6 separate regions of the Homo sapiens genome follow, and all the other regions are linked to region 6. Evidence: promoter capture Hi-C in 16 types of primary human blood cells and fetal thymus (Javierre and others, 2016). All regions are on one chromosome and are shown on one strand. Each heading gives the region's core, a stretch centred on a gene start or on the middle of the fragment in contact. The rest is flanking DNA. Distances are from core to core; before and after follow the strand shown. Region 1 overlaps LOC102723490 (a long non-coding RNA gene). Region 2 overlaps DCLK1 (doublecortin like kinase 1). Region 3 overlaps SMAD9 (SMAD family member 9). Region 4 overlaps SERTM1 (serine rich and transmembrane domain containing 1). Region 5 has its middle 25 kb from the start of RFXAP. Region 6 holds the start of CCNA1 (cyclin A1).

Region 1 (2,700 bases), core at 201-2,700, 280 kb before region 6:
CTTTATGTTTTTTTTTTTTTTTGAGACAGGGTCTCATTCTGTCACACAGGCTGGAGTGCAGAGGCATGATCTTGGCTCCCTACAGCCTCAACTTCCTAGGCTCAAGCTATCCTTCCATCTCCTCCTCTCAAGGTAGCTGGGACTACATGCACACACCTCCCTGCGTGTCTAATTTTTGTATTTTTCTGTAAGGACGTCTTGCAATGTTGCCCCCAGGCTGGTATCCAATTCCTGGCCTGAAGTGATCCCCCTGCCTTGGCCTTCCAAAATGCAGGGATTACAGGTGTGAGCCATCATGTCCAGCCTATGTACCGCTTAAGTACTGTTTTCTTAAAAGCCACAGAGTTCAATCCTCAGCCTTTTTTCTTTTGGATTTGTACATAATCCCAAAGGATCTCATTCGTGCCTTCAGCTTTGGCTCTCTTCTGACCTCCAGACCCATTTATCCAGCTGTCTAAAGCACATCTTCTCAGGAATAACTTAGATGTCAAAACCAGAATCTTTAAACTCATGCTGTCCAACAAAGCAAAGCCCCTTCTCACTTTCCTATTTGTTCTCACTGTACTTATCACATGGGCAACCTCCTTCTCTGGCTAGTGCAGCTCTTATCGCATTGCTCTGCAGCAAGTTACAAGCTGTGTGATCTTGGGGAATGTATCCCTCTGAACCTCTGTTTCTTTCTCTGGAAGAGAGAGATAATAATCCAAACCACATGGGATTTTCGTGGAGATTCAGTGAAATGTATATATCATCTCATATAGTGCCTGACACACAGCAGACATCCTGCACATGTTTGTTTCTTCTTCTTTTTCTTTTCTACTTCTCCTTCTGCCCCCAACCAGACTGTGAGTAACCTGAGGACAGAGTCTGTGCTTTCCTAATACTCAATGCTGAGTAATTGTTAGTGAATCACAGAACCTATAGAACTACAGGACCTATAATAGCAGACATTCCAGATATGTATTTAAAATTCTTTGAAGCTGCTAATCTTTCAGTTTCTGTATTCAGTCTCTAACGAGGTGCAAAGAAGTAAAAATTTAGGATAAACTCTATACTGTGATTACAATAAATATTCATTAAGCTATTTACAAAAAGTCCGTCTTCATACACATTAGGAACAGATCATGTATACACCCTGTATTAGCACATTCAGGGCACAATCTGAAACCTGCACTTCTAAAATTCACCAAAGTTCTCAGTCTGCATATTGTGTGAGCTAAAGGATTTCATGTTCTTGGTCTTTTACTTTTGCTTAATTTTAAAAATGTATAATGGATACAATAATTGTACATATTTACAGGATACAATGTGATATTTTGACGTGTGTATGCATAATATAATGATCAAATTGGGGTAATTACCATATCCGCCACTTTAAACATTTCTCATTTCTTCTAGCTATCTTAAAATATTCACTGCATTGTTATTTGCTATAGTGGTTAACAGAGGCTGGGGAGGGTGGAGGGAGGGAACCAGAAGAGTTTGGTCAATGGGTACAAAGTTACAGTTAAACAGGAAGAATAAGTTTTGGTGTCCTCATGTCTCTAATTTTAACAGAGTTTTATATTTTTATCAAATTTGCATTACACTGGATGCCAAGGTATAAGTTATTTTTGATAAAATACATCTTTATTCTGTGGGGGGAAACTGGAGCACCGAGGACTAATAACATGCTTCCTTCACTAGAAATTACTTGTAGTTTAGCATTCACTATGACAACGTGGCTGAGCATGGTTGAATTGTGATCTTGCCTTGAGAAAAAAGATTCTAGCTACTTGCAGTTTATAAGCAGGTACCTTCTGACTATGCAGAGATCTGTTCAATGTTTCTCTAATTTAATTGCCACGTAGTATGCGGTGGTTCATTGTGTTCAGTCTGCTTTGAGCAAAAAGGTCTAACTCATTTACAGGCTGCTGAGTCATAGGGGCTCCTTCAACAAGGAGAAAGTGGTTCCAGAAGAGAATTAGTAACAGCTGGGGGCTGCACAGTCCACAGTAAGGGCATGGGGTGGAGAGCACAGTACTCCCACTCCTGCCTCACAAGAAGCTGAAAGGAACGGGTCCAAAGCCTGGGGCAGCCAGAGATCGGGACCTGCAAACACTGAAAGAGGCTGTGCTGAGCTTTACGCAGTACATGACTTGGAAAAAACATTTAAACTAAGATTTTTTTTTTCTGTTTTCATTTGTTTTATGGGACATTGTGTAGCTTATAGACAAACATTTAAAAGTGAAAATTCTTTTGTTAATTTAAATGGATTCCTTATGGAAACACTGATGCACATGAGGAAATTTTACTTCTATTTTTCTTAGGTTATCACTCATTCATGTGTGGACTTTTTATTGAGGGGGTTTCATGTGCTTCACACTGGGCTGCGAGATAGCCTGCAGCCTTGCTTGCAGGAGCTCAGAGTACCATGCGGGAGGGGAGACAGATGAATCACTCCAGGGGTGAGTGCTGCATTTTCCATTAACAGCAGGTGATAGGAAACCTGTAGGAGATACCCTGCCTGGAAATATCACAGATGATTCCCTGGAGAAATTGATGTCTCAGTGAAAAGCACGGATGTGTATGATCTAGCCAGGCATTAGGGATGAGGGAGGAATTGGTGTCCCAGACAAAGACAGCAGTGTATATAAAGATGGGTGTGGGTGTGTTGAAGGAAGTTAGGAGAGTGGTAAGATATGAAGTATTGAGGGGTGG
Region 2 (2,700 bases), core at 19-2,518, 450 kb after region 6:
GAAAGGATAGCTCTGGGACAATATTGTTTATGGATTGGCTGTCATGCATTTGCCAAGCAATGGCAGTGGCTGTTTAGAAGCTTTCTGCGCCTCACCCCATTCACATGTCCTCTTTCTGGCTGTCTCAGTTCTGAACCCCATGCAGAGATCAGCTGACATCCCTTGTCTTCCATGAAACCTCATTGATTAGTCCTTCCCCGGCCGGGTCTTCTGAATCCCGGGCTGTATTCTTTTACTTTTAATAGTCATTGGAAAGTCGCTTGGCACTTCGTTGACAGCCCTTGGGCTACTGCCTTTTTGTGGGTAAGGGTTGTCTTCCAGGTGGAGAATATTTCTCCAGACCAAAAACATAGCTTCTGTTTTGTGGCCTCATGGCTTAGCAGAGATCTGTATGTGAGATTGGGTACTGGGAACAGCTTGGCAAGTTATTAACCTCTGCAGAGCTCAGGTTTCTCATTTTAAAAATAAAGACAACTACCATTAAAGGAAGATCGTGTTTTCAGGATTAGATAAGACAATATAGGTAGAGCACTTAGCACTGTGGCTGGTGCTCAATAATTGGTGGTTATTACTCTTACTAGTAAGGTAATAGGTGTGTATTCTGTTTGGGAGTTAACCTGAGTTTACTACCCTTTTAGAAGATAGTTCCATCATTCCGATAATTCATGCCGTTGTCATTTTGTAATATCTTTGTGTGAAATGGGGCCTTACAGAAAAAAAGGTGTGGAAATCTAACGTAATCTCTTGTCAGGGTAAGTGTAAATTTGAGTTTCCTGGAGGTCTAGTGACACCAAGTGGCGAATTGTGATATTACATGTTGGTTGTTTGAGAGTGTTCAAATTCTATTTCATTGGTAAAATAGCAAATTATTCTGCTGTGTATGATTTCTGAGTTTTCCTCTCTTAATTGTAATCTAGTATTGAGTGAGAATGGAAAGAATATTATAAGAGTACTACATTGTAGACTTATTGAATGAAAAACTGGAATTCTAGACCGGGCACGGTGGCTCACGCCGGTAATCCCAGCACTTTGGGAGGCCAAGGTGGGTGGATCACTTGAGCCCAGGAATTTGAGACCAGCCTGGGCAACATGGTGAAACTCCATCTCTACTAAAAATACAAAAATTAGCCGGGCGTGATGTCGCGTGCCTGTAATTCCAGCTACTTGGGAGGCTGAGGCAGGAGAATAGCTTAAACCCAAGAGGCAGAGGTTGCAATGAGCCGAGATCGTACTACTGCACTCCAGCTGGGTGACAGAGTGAGACTCCGTCAAAAAAAAAAAAAAAAAAAAAAAGAAAAGAAAAGAAAAAAAAAACTGGAACTCTAAATTGCACAAAGCAGAAAATCGATTCTTAATGTGCAAGTGTTTTCTTCATGTATTATTTATATCCTGTCAACACAGTGACATATTTGAAATTGACACCAATTTGTAATGGATCGTTAGTAATACTTCCTTAATATTTCTTTCAGGGACAATGACATTCTGCTTATTATCTACCCAGTCTGTAAAGAAAGCTGACATTTGAATACTCACAGAGCTCTTGTTGACAATGTAATTGTGCCCACTGTGTAGAGAACGTTAGTCCTATTAACTTATGATGGCTTCCGAACCTTGACTTTCTTCATGGGGAAAGAAATGAGCAACTTTCCATTATTTGCTATGCCACCGAGACAACATCTGGGCCTGGAGTTAGTGCTTGAACATGGAGCTGTTCTTGGGTGTATGACACCATTCTTAGGTACTGAAGAGCAGACCAGAGTTGATGAGCTGGGATTTTCTAAACCTAATCATTTGTTCTCAGCCTTCTTCATGTCACTGCCAACATTCATCTCTGGCTGTGATCTGGTCTTGTAGGTAATTTCCTCATTCATTATTCAAGGTATTGTGTGGAATTAAAAAAAAAATAGCCCATTAGACCCATCAGAATACACCTGATGACCAGTATTAAATGTGTGCATTTCTGTACTTTAATTAGCAAATACCTAATATTGGGGCAATGGAGAACCATGTGCTTAAGTCAAAAGGGCTTCGTGATAGTCATTCACCAAAATATACCTCCTCAGAAAGAGTCCTTGGACTCACCAATCCTTTGCTTGCCCTCAGGCCACTTATTTGGGGTGAGCTGGGAGTGGCTGACATACCCTTCCCTCCTGCCCACCCCAAGGAAGGAGCGCAGAAATGCAGACAGCAGATTGCTCAGGGGGAAAACTTGCCCAATCTGCCCAGACACTCTGAGTTGGGAACATAATCAGCTGGCATTTATGAGGCTCATAGTTCTGTATTCAGCTTCCTGATATGCATGAAGTAACTTATATATTTGGAACAGTTGATAAAATTTGAATTTATCTTTCTCTCTCTGTATATATATACACACACACATACACGAAAAATACAGCATTTTATTTTTGTCATTTCTTAACATCTGGAGTGGATGCAAGTTTCACAAATGAAGCTTTTTGAATTATTTCTGATTTAATTCCTTAAATAATATAATCCAGATTCCACTAAGGCTTAAGCTCTCTATATCCTTCCTGAGGCTTTGTTAATTCTTTGAGGACACTGTGCTGATGATTGTTAATGCCGTGGTCTGTTCATTTGTGTGACTGAAAGTGTAACTTAGTGCAGCGTCCAGCCAGGCATGCCTCACTTAAAACCTCGGAGAAGGCCGGGCGCGGTGGCTCACGCCTGTAATCCCAGCAC
Region 3 (2,700 bases), core at 59-2,558, 480 kb before region 6:
CTTTCCTCTCCTGTGCACCTTTACCCCACGCTGAGGCCTTCCCAGCTTCCCCACCTCCCACAGGATCCTCAAATATGACTTCTTCATCTTGTATGCCCTGTTCAGGCGCTGCCTTCACGGGACTTTCTGTGATGACCCTGGTCCCAGGTATGTCCTCCTTCGAGCTCCTGTGGCTCTTCGCCTTTTCAACTCTTACCTGTTTTGTATTAAGTTACTCATAGACTAATTTATTTCTTCCCCTCAGACCATCCTTACAAGATCCAGGAAGGAAGGGACTGTTTCATCTACCTTTTTTATTCTCTGAATGCTGACCACAGTGCCCTTTATAGTACTCTATCAATAAATAACAAATACATGACACATTTTTTCACTGAACCCATGGTCCCTCCTGAAATAAAGTCTGTAAAAGCATTTCACCCATAGGATAAAGTCCATCTTTCAAGAAGCTGGTGTTGAATCTGAGCTGAGGACTAGTTCAGAGGCCTGAAATCCCCTCAGCCCAGTTGAGAGCCTCCTTCTCCTGAACATTGTGGCTGAGCATTACAGTCAGGAAAAGCTTCTATGATACTCTTATTGCATTAGCAGTTTTCCATATCAGATTCACTAAATACACAATGGAAGCCATTTAGTAGAAAAACAGATTTTAATGTGATACGGCTACCACAATGAAACACTAATGTGATTCCACAGAAAATTGCTAACACGATATGCTGATTCCTCCCCCCACCATAGCCGCATAAAAATTGATACTGTTTTTAATGTATGTGTTTCAAACTATGCTCACAAAAGAAAAGCAGACTGCTACTGAGATGAGCTGCTGCTTTGTTCACGTTGGATGTGTAAAGGGTCTTGTTATCAGCCTCGTCAGGCAGAATCTGCCTTCTGTGCCTTGGTCATTCTATTATCGAACAATACTAACTCTCATTTTAAAATATATCATGTTCTGTGTAACAATCCAGTATTAAAGTTAATATGATGTGAAAAAATAGAATTTGCTTATAAATGTCATGCCCATATAATATATTCAGTTGTACCGTTTTAATTGGGAAGCTCTAATCAGCTCAAAACGCATTTTTCAAGAATCAAAACGACTCCCAATATAAAATTTAAATTCAGAATTTAAAATAAAAGGCATAAATATTAAGGTGGATTGTATATGTGTGTGCACACGGTTGTAACACTTTAGAAGTCATAAGCACTGAAGAGATTATGGTTCTTCCCCCTCATTCCCAGCCCACATTTAATTCAAAGAAAAAAGTTTAACCCAAAGAATAATTGTAAAGGAGACCTATGTAGTTCTGATTTTTTCCTATAATGACAATTTCCAATTCCTCTTTTTTAGATATTAAATATCAAAATCTTCTCTCTCTCTCTCTCTCTTTGTCTCATTCTTTGGTACTCTGATTAGCTGATTCACTGGTGGGGATTATTTTTATGTGAATTTCCCCTTGGGGAAATTTAATACTTAATATCTGATCACTTCCTTTTCTTTTTCATATTTAATTCTGAGGGACTATAAATAGAAAACATGTACTCCTCAGTCCCGAGGAGAGTTTGGTGCTGCAGTTGCGAAAAGCAATCTTCAGTTTACAAGCACTAGGAGTGCCAGGGATGCCCATTCATTCTAGGACTCCAGTTGCCAGTTTTCTATCACTGAACAAAGGAATCTGGATAGCATACATGTGGTCTTGCGGCCATTCAAACGTGTTGGTGACATTGGGGATTCTGAGTTGAGGATTCTGACGACTTAGAGTTTGCAAGTAGTAGAAGTGTGAACACTGTGAGGTAGCCACATCCTGAACTCACTGACCCCAGGAGCACATCCCTAGATACACTGGGCCATTTGCCTTAAATGACTGCTTTAATCTATGGAATATCTTCTTCCATACAGCCTGTTTTTTACTTTTCATCTGTTAAAGTGCTTAGAAGCCTATCAAATACAGATTTACTTTGGTTACTGTGTATTTTGATTTGTTTTCACAAAACGCAATAATTGTGCAATGGTTAATGTCATTCTAAAGGATTTTGTCCTACGTACTTGTGGGCTATGGAAAGCTTACAGCAGATTTGCAGGTCTTTTTTAAGAAGCATTTGATGGATGGTAGCGTTCAACTGAAGTGCCAGGAGTTGCTTTCTGAATTCTTGTATCTAAATTTAACTGACTTGGTAGTACCACATTTCAGGAGTTAATGGTAACGCAGAAAGGGATTCACAGATTCCATCAGTTTCCCACTTTGTGGCAGAATATTTGACATCTCTTATCAGTACACTTCATCATAAGTTCATGAATTCATCTTGCTCCTTTCTTTGCTGAGAATCACAGTGAGAGAATTGGAGTTTGGCTGAGAGGAGGAGTGAGGAAGGAAGAAGGAAGAGTAAGTTTTTTTTTGTTTTGTTTTTGTTTTTTGAGATGGAGTCTCTCTCTGTCGCCCAGGCTGGAGTGCAGTGGCACCATCTCGGCTCACTGCAAGCTCCACCTCCCGGGTTCATGCCATTCTCCCGCTTCAGCCTCCCAAGTAGCTGGGACTACAGGCACCTGCCACCACGCCCGGCTAATTTTTTGTATTTTTAGTAGAGACAGGGTTTCACCATGTTAGCCAGGATGGTCTCGATCTCCTGACCTCATGATCCGCCGGCCTCGGCCTCCCAAAGTGCTGGGTTTACAGGCGTGATCCACCGCGCCTGGCCCGAGAGTAAGTC
Region 4 (2,700 bases), core at 195-2,694, 260 kb before region 6:
TCAAATGTAAACATAATTTCTTTTCTGCGTGGGCAGATAAGGCAAAGACTATGCATCTTGTGTGTTCCTCATGACTACTTTGCAGGGCAGGTAAAGCAGGAATTATTCCCATTTTGGAGATGAGAAAACTGACATGCAAAAACATCGCGATTTACTCAGGGTACATAGCTAGACAGTGACAGAAAAGTGACTAGAATCCATGCCTGAACTGTGTTCTTGGTTTTCTCAACTGTGGTAAGAAAAGAAAAATTATGCTTTGGATAATTAGTTCCTATCTGCCACTTACTTTGGGCAAGCCCACAGTTTAGTCCCGATCTTTTATTTTTCTCATTTGCACAACAGTGATGCCTACCTTTCCTACTTCTCCAGAAGGTCTTGAGTTAAGATGTGATAACATTTTCCATAATCATACTTAGAAAATCATAAAAGGCCATCCCAAGTAAAGTGCCAGTAGATAGAAAGTTCCTTCTAGAAAGTCTAGAGGAACTTTCAAGGTCTCTCTTAGTCCTACAGTTTCGACAGGTGTAGCTGAAGTTGGCTGATTTTTCTAAAGCTACCTTCTCTGCTACCCAAGTCTGTATCATTTTCAGGGATGGTGCTGGAGGCACAGGCAATGTCACTCTGGTATCAGCAATTCAGTTGGTAAAGCTTACAGCTGGCTACCAGACCTCTTGTTAATATCATTTTACAGGGTAAATATTCTAAGAGTAGGTTTTTACTTCCAGAAGATTGCCTTCTTTCAGACCAAAACCCCACCATGAGCCTCAACTGTTGACAGGAGAGTTTATAGGAAATGAGGCTCAGAAGGTTTGGTCAAAGCATCTGATCTTTTAAGTGGCCTTGGAAGAATAGGAGAAAACAAGGAAATGAAACCTTGTGTCCTTATTTGACATTTCACAACTAAATATCTTCTTCCTTAAGTATTCCCCCCAAATATTATTGATTTAATACCATTTCCGGGGTACTTCTTAATTTAAAATCACAGCTACACAAATTTCATTTCATACTCTGAAACAACAGAGTATGTGCACTGCTAGAAAGAATTTTAATTTGGATGTTAATTCTCGTTTCCTTATTGAAGTTTTAAAAACTGGAATATCTTCTTTCTCTTTGGTTTTATTTAACAGTAGCTGTATAATGCTCAGGGTGACCCAGCCTGTATGTGTTTAGGCATTGTGACAGTGTGGAAACAGGCTGGAGGTTGCACTGCGGAAATGAAATCAAATGAGTGTGTTTCAAGATGATGCTTCTTGGGCTGTTGCTCCCAAACAGATAAGGTTTGAGGAAAAGAAGAAAGAGACTTCATCTTAAATGCATAGCCTTGACCTGTCTCGGGGCAGCGCCAGCAGACTCTCATTTCAGGTGACACCTAAAGCCACATGGGGATTTTGATGCTTTTTTTCCGCTCAGAATCACTGTCCTCAGAAGGTGATTTTTGAGAAAGGAAAATGAGACAGTTGGATCACAACATTATAAAGGAAGACCTGTGGAAATGTTTTAGCTCATGGTCAACCAGCTTTCCCTTTGTCTCTTGTAATAAAAGCCTGGGCTGGGAAGAAATCTACAAAAAAGCAGTCCCCTAGTGAAGTGAGGAAGGAGGGATGTGCAGTCTCTCACCATGTGCCCAGTGGGGTGGGGAAACAGAGAGACAACGTAAGACAGCGCACACCTGGGGTCTCTGGTTCCCAGTCATTTAGCACCACAGCCCTGGGACCCCTTTTAAAGAACTTCCTTCCCACGGAAGGATTATGAGGACTATAATGTTTGGGAAGAAGAAAAACATACTCTCTAGCACGTACCTTCATTCTCCATAAATGAAGAAGAGTTGACCAGCTCTCATCTCTGAGTGCTCTCACATAAGCATTGCAGGACCCATGGCAGTCAGCGCATGGGCCCAGCCTGCGCCACATCCTTGACTTCTATGACACAATAGTTTGTAAAACTCAGGCTACCAGTCAGCCTCAAATATGGCACAGCAATTTTAAATTTCATGACCTTTATTCAAATACATTTCTATGTGAATAACGACTATTTGAAAGGTTTTTGTTGTTGTTGTGGAAAACTGGGACAAGCTGCTTTGTTCCCTTGCGGACTTTATATTTAAAGAGTGGCCTGGCTGTTAGATGCCATATCAATGTTCCATCATTATCAGGTTCTGCTGTCATACTCCAAAAGGTGATCCTCTCAAAACCATGAGGAAAGTGGCCACAAAGTATTAACACAACATAATAAAAAGCTTTTTCCAGTACACAAAAGGAAGATTTGATAGTTGAATGGAATTAATGGTTTTAGATGATGTATTAGATCTTTTCCTCTGTAGAACACCTAAAAATGAATATTTCCAGAATCCAGAAGGGAACTTATCATATCTGAGCAAAGCTGTTTTTCATTCTATTTAGAAAATGCATGTTTTATATAAGACCTTGCAGCCATTCCTTTACCCTTTGCATGATTATCTTCTCTTTTAATGCTTTCTCTCTCCTTAGTGGCCTTTTAGGTCATGCTAGCTGAGAGAAGATTACTGCTGACAATACACACTTCCCACCACCCTTCTCTAAATGTAAATCTTCACTTGCATTCAAAGGCAAACATTTACCCCTGGGCCTTGCAGTAATAGAAATAAAGTTTACTATCTTACGTGCTACCCTTACTCAAAGCTGACTCAGCCATCCATAGAGTTGCCTATTTGAGAACCGCCTT
Region 5 (2,700 bases), core at 49-2,548, 360 kb before region 6:
TAACCCATGTCAAAAATGAGATGCAAGTGCACAAAAAATTTATGCAAACCCTGCTGGGATAAAGAGGGTTCATGATGGTGGGTTTTGATACGCAAACGTGAATGCTGGGGTGAGGAAAGGCCCCCCACAGAGTGGAATGCTTGACATGGGCTTGCTCACAAGCTGCCTGAGTCAGAAGCACCTGAGAGAGGTACCTACTTGGGGAGGGGAGGAGTATTAGGGTTAATGAATACAAGAAGGTGATTCGGCCGGGGGAGGGGTGGGTGTGTTGGCTCACACCTGTAATCCTAGCACTTTGGGAGGCTGAGGCAGGCGGATCACTTGAGGTCACGAGTTCAAAACCAGCCTGGCCAACATGGTGAAGCCCCGTCTCTACTAAAAATACAAAAAAATTAGCTGGGCGTGGTGGTGGGTGCCTGTAATTCTAGCTACTTGGGAGGCTGAGACAGGAGAATCATTTGAACCAGGCAGGTGGAAGCTGCAGTGAGCCGAGATTGGGCCACTGCAGTACAGCCTGGGCGACAGAGCGAGACCCTGTCTCAAAACAAAAACAAAAACAAAAACCCAACAAGATGTTTCAGGATAAATAGGTCCAGGAGGATTAGATCATTTTGGCTTTTACCCCATCAATATTTAATGCGAATGAAGAGTTGCAGAACAGAATCAGTTTTTCCAGGATACGTTCTCCTGTCATCATGAGCCGAGCCTATTGAACTACTGAGCCCGTGAAATTGAGAATGATACCATTCATTGTCTGGAGGTAGGTCCTACTGCTGCAGATTGTTCTGAGAAGCTGTCATAGAAGATGATTTGCACAATGAAGTCTCCACTAAACCACGGCTTAAGTCCAGTCTCTGGCCTTCTTTTTCTGCTCTGCAGTCCAGAAACATTTCTTTAAAAGCCAGAAAATCTGTAAATTTGAGCAGCATTTGGAGTATGTCACCAACCACTTCATCTTTGTGGTGCTGTAACGTTGTGAAAGTTGCCATGGTAAAGCCAAGAATTTGCTCCAGCAACTGTTCTTCTATATACTTTCCTGCCAAAGAAATATATTCATTAAAAATAGGTGTGTTCTTCTATATACTTTCTTCTATATACTGTTCTTCTATATACTTTCCTGCCAAAGAAATATATTCATTAAAAATAGGTGTGTAGGTGAGTTTATTCTCTTTGGTGTCCTCAAACTCCTGGTAGTAGTTGTTGATGAAATTTCTCTGTAATAACTGGAAATCTTCATCCATGATAATGTCCTCTAAATATCCAACCGCAGCATCAAAATGTGCATCAGAGTCAGAGGAGAAGGGCACAATGAAGCCTTCTTCTAAAGCACCCATGGTTGGTGCCACCGCACCCACCCAAGTGAGCTGACCCATTGGGTCCCTACGGTTTCTAGGGCACAGAGGTCAGCTGGGGGAAGCCTTGTCGCCCAGGCTGCAGCCCACTCCTAAATTTTTAAAGGTATAGCAATAACATTGTGGTTATGCAAGAGAATATCCTTATATTTAGGAGATTCATGATTAAGAACTCAGAGGTGAAATAGCATGGTCACTGTATTTTACTTTGAAATGTTTTAGTCAAATATACAAACATATAGGAAGCAATTACAGCAAAATACTTGCAATTGCTGAATGTAGGTGGCAGGCATATGGGTGTTCCTTGCTCTAATCCAAGAGTGTCCAATCTTTTGGCTTCCCTGGGCCACACTGGAAGAAGAACTGTCTCGGGCCACATGTAAAATACACTAACACTAACTATAGCAGATGAGTTAAAAAGAGAATCACAAAAAAACTCATAATACTTTAAGAAAGTTTATGAATTTGGGTTGGGCTTCATTCAAAGCTGTCCTGGTCCACATGTGACCCATGGGCTGTGAGTTGGACAAGCATGTCCTAGTCTTTCAACTTTTCTGTATATTTAAAAATAAATATATTAATATACAAAATATAAATTAAAAATTATAATTTGAATAAGGAAGACCTTTTCAAATATGCTTGAAGGCTATATCTCATCAATTTGCAGTATTTCCAATTATATATATATTTTTATTGATCATGTCAAAGATCCATAAAGGTCCATAATGTGAGCCAAACCTTTTAAAAATATTTGCTTGGTGAACCATCTTATTTGGACATGACATTCAAACACTTAAATGACATTTGAAAGATTATGAATAATCTGTCAGTGAAGGGATTATTTTTAAACATTCATTGATGATTATCTTGTTCTCTGAGACTTGGTAATTAGGTTGTTGATGAATAATAAAATGACTTGTTAAAACACCCGGTACCTCTTTTTAAAGTTGGCTCTAAACTTACATTATTGGTGCTCCATCTGTTAAATAAGCAATGATGTTGGAAAAGGAAATTTTTTTCTCTTTAATTAATTTTAGGGTTTCAAATATTGACAAATTTTTTGTATTCATTGTTAGCAATTTTGAAAATAATCTTTTCTACATAATTTTTCTGTCCTTGAACACTTTATAGATGCAAATATTAAAGTCTTATGATTATTCAGGTTACTTTTGCCCACTCATAATCAAAGTTATTTGCACTATGCAATTGATTTCAATATCTTTTACCGTCTTCTTAAAGCAGTATTAAATGGGATAGAGAAATTATTTGGTTTGGATTTATTTTTATCCTCTTTGTACTAATCTCTTATATAGCTTATAAAACTAATTTTCTTAGAATACCGTATGAT
Region 6 (2,700 bases), core at 34-2,533:
CCTGAGGTCAGGAGTTGGTGACCAGCCTGGCCAACATGGTGAAATCCCATCTCTACTAAAAACACAAAAATTAGCCGGGCGTGGTGGTGGGTGCCTGAAATCCCAGCTACTCGGGAGGCTGAGGCAGGAGAATCGCTTGAACCCGGGAGGTGGAGGTTGCAGTGAGCCGAGATCGCGTCACTGCACTCCAGCCTGGCGACAAGAGCGAAACTCCGTCTCAAAAAAAAAAAAAGAAGGAAAGGAAAGGAAAGAAAAAAAAAGGAAAGGAAGAAGGAAGAGAAACAAAGAAAAAGAAAGAAGGAAAGAAAGAGAAAGAAAAGAAAGAAAGAAAGAACGAAAGAAAGAAAGAAAGAAAGAAAGAAAGAAAGAAAGAAAGAAAGAAAGAAAGAAAGAAAGAAAGAAAGAAAATAAATCAATCAACTTTCCTGTAGTCCAGATTCCAGGGTTGTAATACTCAGGGGGAGTTGTAGGTACAAGGGCAAGAGAAAAGCACCTGGCACCAAAGCAGGAGAGCTGTTCTCCACAAGCATCATTCTCAATGCGTCTGAGTCATTACCTGGCCACAGGTCCTCCTGTACTGCCCATTTGCAGTTAGCAGCCCTAGCACTGTCCTCTGCGGGGGATCCTGGCCCAGCGGGGCTCTGGTGAGTATCTGACAAGCATCGGGACCTCGGGCCACTGTAGCCAGCACAACTCCACTCTTGGGGTTGCTGCAGTGCATTGCTTCAGACTCCACGGGCTGCTGCTACCAGGGAAAGAGAAACAGACAAGCTGTTTAGTCGATTCCGTCCACCCCGGGCTCCAAGGACACAGCGAACCTCTAGGAGGGAGAGCACCAAGCAATGGGACTAACACCAATTGCTGATCTTCCCAGTAATTATTGGGGCTGAAAGGGCAGGTGCGACCGCACAGGCGATCAAAGTTGCTCTGAATCAAAACAGTTATTTGAATCCCTGAGGGAGGCTTTTTATCCCAAGACTTCGTGTTGGGCTGGAAGGAGAGAAACATTCTGACAAGCCTCCAAGTCGGGATACTAAACCCACGTTACCTGGAAGACGAAATCTGGGAGCCCCGGTCCTTCCCAGCTGAGATACTCTTCTCCCCAGCCCCCAATAAAAGATCCAGGGTACATGATTGCGGGAAAGCCGGTCTCCATCCCAAGTGACGAGCAGGGTGCTGCGCTGCGGCCTCCTCCCACCAGACAGGAGGCCCCAAAACCTGCCTGGACCCCAAAGCGGGCCCCGCTCTTCCCGTCGTTATCTTTCTATGTGTCCGGAACAACTGGCAAGTGCACTGGAGGATCGCGGTTAAGAGGTGGCCGGCTGGGCGGGGCAGGGCGGGGCAGGGTTGGGCAGGGCCGGGCCGGGCCGGGCGGGGCAGGGCGGGGAAGGGCAGGGAAGGGCAGGGCACGGAAGGGCGGGGCGGGAAGGACCAAGTGTCGAGGGATTCCAGCCTGGGAGGCGGCCGGGCTTAGCGATGCGGCTGAGCTGCCCACCCGCGTCTGTTGAATCGGCCAATCAGCGGCGCCCCCGGACCTAGCGGGAGCGTTTCCATGCCGACCGCGGCAGGCGTGCGCTCTCCGGGGCCGCATCGCCATGGCGACCTGCTCACCTGACTCGCTCCGGGTGGACTCGCCGCGACCCCTGGGCGTTCAGGCCCCTGAGGGCCCAACGGGCGACGGCCCTCCAGCTCCAGCTGTGCGTCTCCGCCCGGGCGAGGTGGGGCTGACCGCGGCCGTCTGCACACGTCCCCTCTGGTCCGCGCCCCCGGCCTGGGAGGGCGGACTCGCCCACCCCACGATGGCCCCGGCTTTGGAAGGGACTGTTTCCGTGACCCGTTCTCCCAACAGCCGCTAACAACCCCCTCTAACGTCTCCTGCGCGGCCCGCTCCTGAGAACCCTGGCTCGGGAGAGCGACGCGGGGTCCTCGGGGCTGCGCAGGCTGCGGCGCCCTGCCCACGCTGGCCCGAGGGCGCGGCTCGCTCCGGGTCGGCTCACACACCTACGCTTCCTGCCGGGAGGCGGCTGGGACGCGGCGGGGCTGCCCCAAGTGCAGTCGCGGCAGTGTTGCGTCTCCATCGCGGGGGTCCTTGCGGGCCGCGCCTGCCCCGCCCGGCTCCCGGTGCATGTGGCCTGCGAGGCGGCAGAGGAGATGTGGGGATTTAGGGTCGCACGTCGTGCTCGAGGTCCCCACGAGAGGTCTTCCCCCGCGGGCTCCTGCGCAACTGCGTGAAGCCGGCCCGGGAAAGCCAAGATTGTGGCCCAGGAAGAGGAAGGAACGCGGGCGACAGAGCTGGGGCTTGGGACGTTGAGGGGGTCGGTGGCAGCTCTCCGGGCTGGGGGCCGGGCGGGCGGCCCGGCCGCGTGGGGAGAGGAGTCCCTGGGGTCCTTATACGGGGGGCTCCTGGAAACCCGGGGGCTCAGACGCCTGCATAGGTGACTGACAAGCCAGGTGAAATAATCGAACTTTATTTTTTTAAAAATAATATGTATATATGCACACACACATTACCAATGCTATAGTCTGTTACTACTTTTGCTTTTTTTAAAACATCCATCCCTAAATCTCTAAATCAGATCCAAAGTCTATTCAAATGGCCACTTTATGCAAGCAACGGTTATCACCGTTTTTCTAAGTGTGCGTTATTAACATTTTCACCAAGCAAACTGAGTGTGGACATTGCTTTAATGGGAAGATAGT

What was found. Contacts are between HindIII fragments. The CHiCAGO score rates a contact against its expected background, and 5 or more counts as called.
Region 1: a contact is called between a fragment that was not itself captured here and the fragment with the promoter of CCNA1 in region 6, in 5 of 17 cell types (M0 macrophages, monocytes, M2 macrophages and 2 more). The highest score is 8.5, in M0 macrophages.
Region 2: a fragment that was not itself captured here is called in contact with the fragment with the promoter of CCNA1 in region 6 in 4 of 17 cell types (M2 macrophages, M1 macrophages, M0 macrophages and 1 more); the score reaches 10.0 in M2 macrophages.
Region 3: a fragment that was not itself captured here is called in contact with the fragment with the promoter of CCNA1 in region 6 in 2 of 17 cell types (naive B cells and M1 macrophages); the score reaches 5.5 in naive B cells.
Region 4: a fragment that was not itself captured here is called in contact with the fragment with the promoter of CCNA1 in region 6 in 3 of 17 cell types (M0 macrophages, M2 macrophages and M1 macrophages); the score reaches 6.4 in M0 macrophages.
Region 5: a fragment that was not itself captured here is called in contact with the fragment with the promoter of CCNA1 in region 6 in 1 of 17 cell types (M0 macrophages); the score reaches 5.4 in M0 macrophages.

What each region holds. Positions count from the first base shown.
Region 1 is chr13:36,712,220-36,714,919 of GRCh38, reverse strand. The region is part of intron 3 of LOC102723490 (a long non-coding RNA gene); the gene reads left to right. Among named protein-coding and RNA genes, the nearest start is that of SERTM1, 40 kb to the right of the region's middle. The HindIII fragment of the contact is 7,545 bases long and covers 1-2,700 here.
Region 2 is chr13:35,976,797-35,979,496 of GRCh38, reverse strand. All of the region lies in intron 3 of DCLK1 (doublecortin like kinase 1), which reads left to right. Among named protein-coding and RNA genes, the nearest start is that of DCLK1, 150 kb to the left of the region's middle. The HindIII fragment of the contact is 2,372 bases long and covers 83-2,454 here.
Region 3 is chr13:36,914,226-36,916,925 of GRCh38, reverse strand. The region is part of intron 1 of SMAD9 (SMAD family member 9); the gene reads left to right. Among named protein-coding and RNA genes, the nearest start is that of SMAD9, 4.7 kb to the left of the region's middle. The HindIII fragment of the contact is 1,499 bases long and covers 559-2,057 here.
Region 4 is chr13:36,690,333-36,693,032 of GRCh38, reverse strand. All of the region lies in intron 1 of SERTM1 (serine rich and transmembrane domain containing 1), which reads right to left. The region is part of intron 6 of LOC102723490 (a long non-coding RNA gene); the gene reads left to right. Among named protein-coding and RNA genes, the nearest start is that of SERTM1, 18 kb to the right of the region's middle. The HindIII fragment of the contact is 1,588 bases long and covers 651-2,238 here.
Region 5 is chr13:36,793,118-36,795,817 of GRCh38, reverse strand. It overlaps the pseudogene ARL2BPP3. Among named protein-coding and RNA genes, the nearest start is that of RFXAP, 25 kb to the left of the region's middle. The HindIII fragment of the contact is 9,289 bases long and covers 1-2,700 here.
Region 6 is chr13:36,431,078-36,433,777 of GRCh38, reverse strand. CCNA1 (cyclin A1) reads right to left here and starts at 1,283. Exons shown (of 9, transcript NM_001413923.1): 1 at 1,049-1,283; 2 at 557-745. The coding sequence starts at 721. RefSeq lists silencers at 1,390-1,549, 1,580-1,629, 1,910-1,979. The HindIII fragment of the contact is 15,627 bases long and covers 1-2,700 here.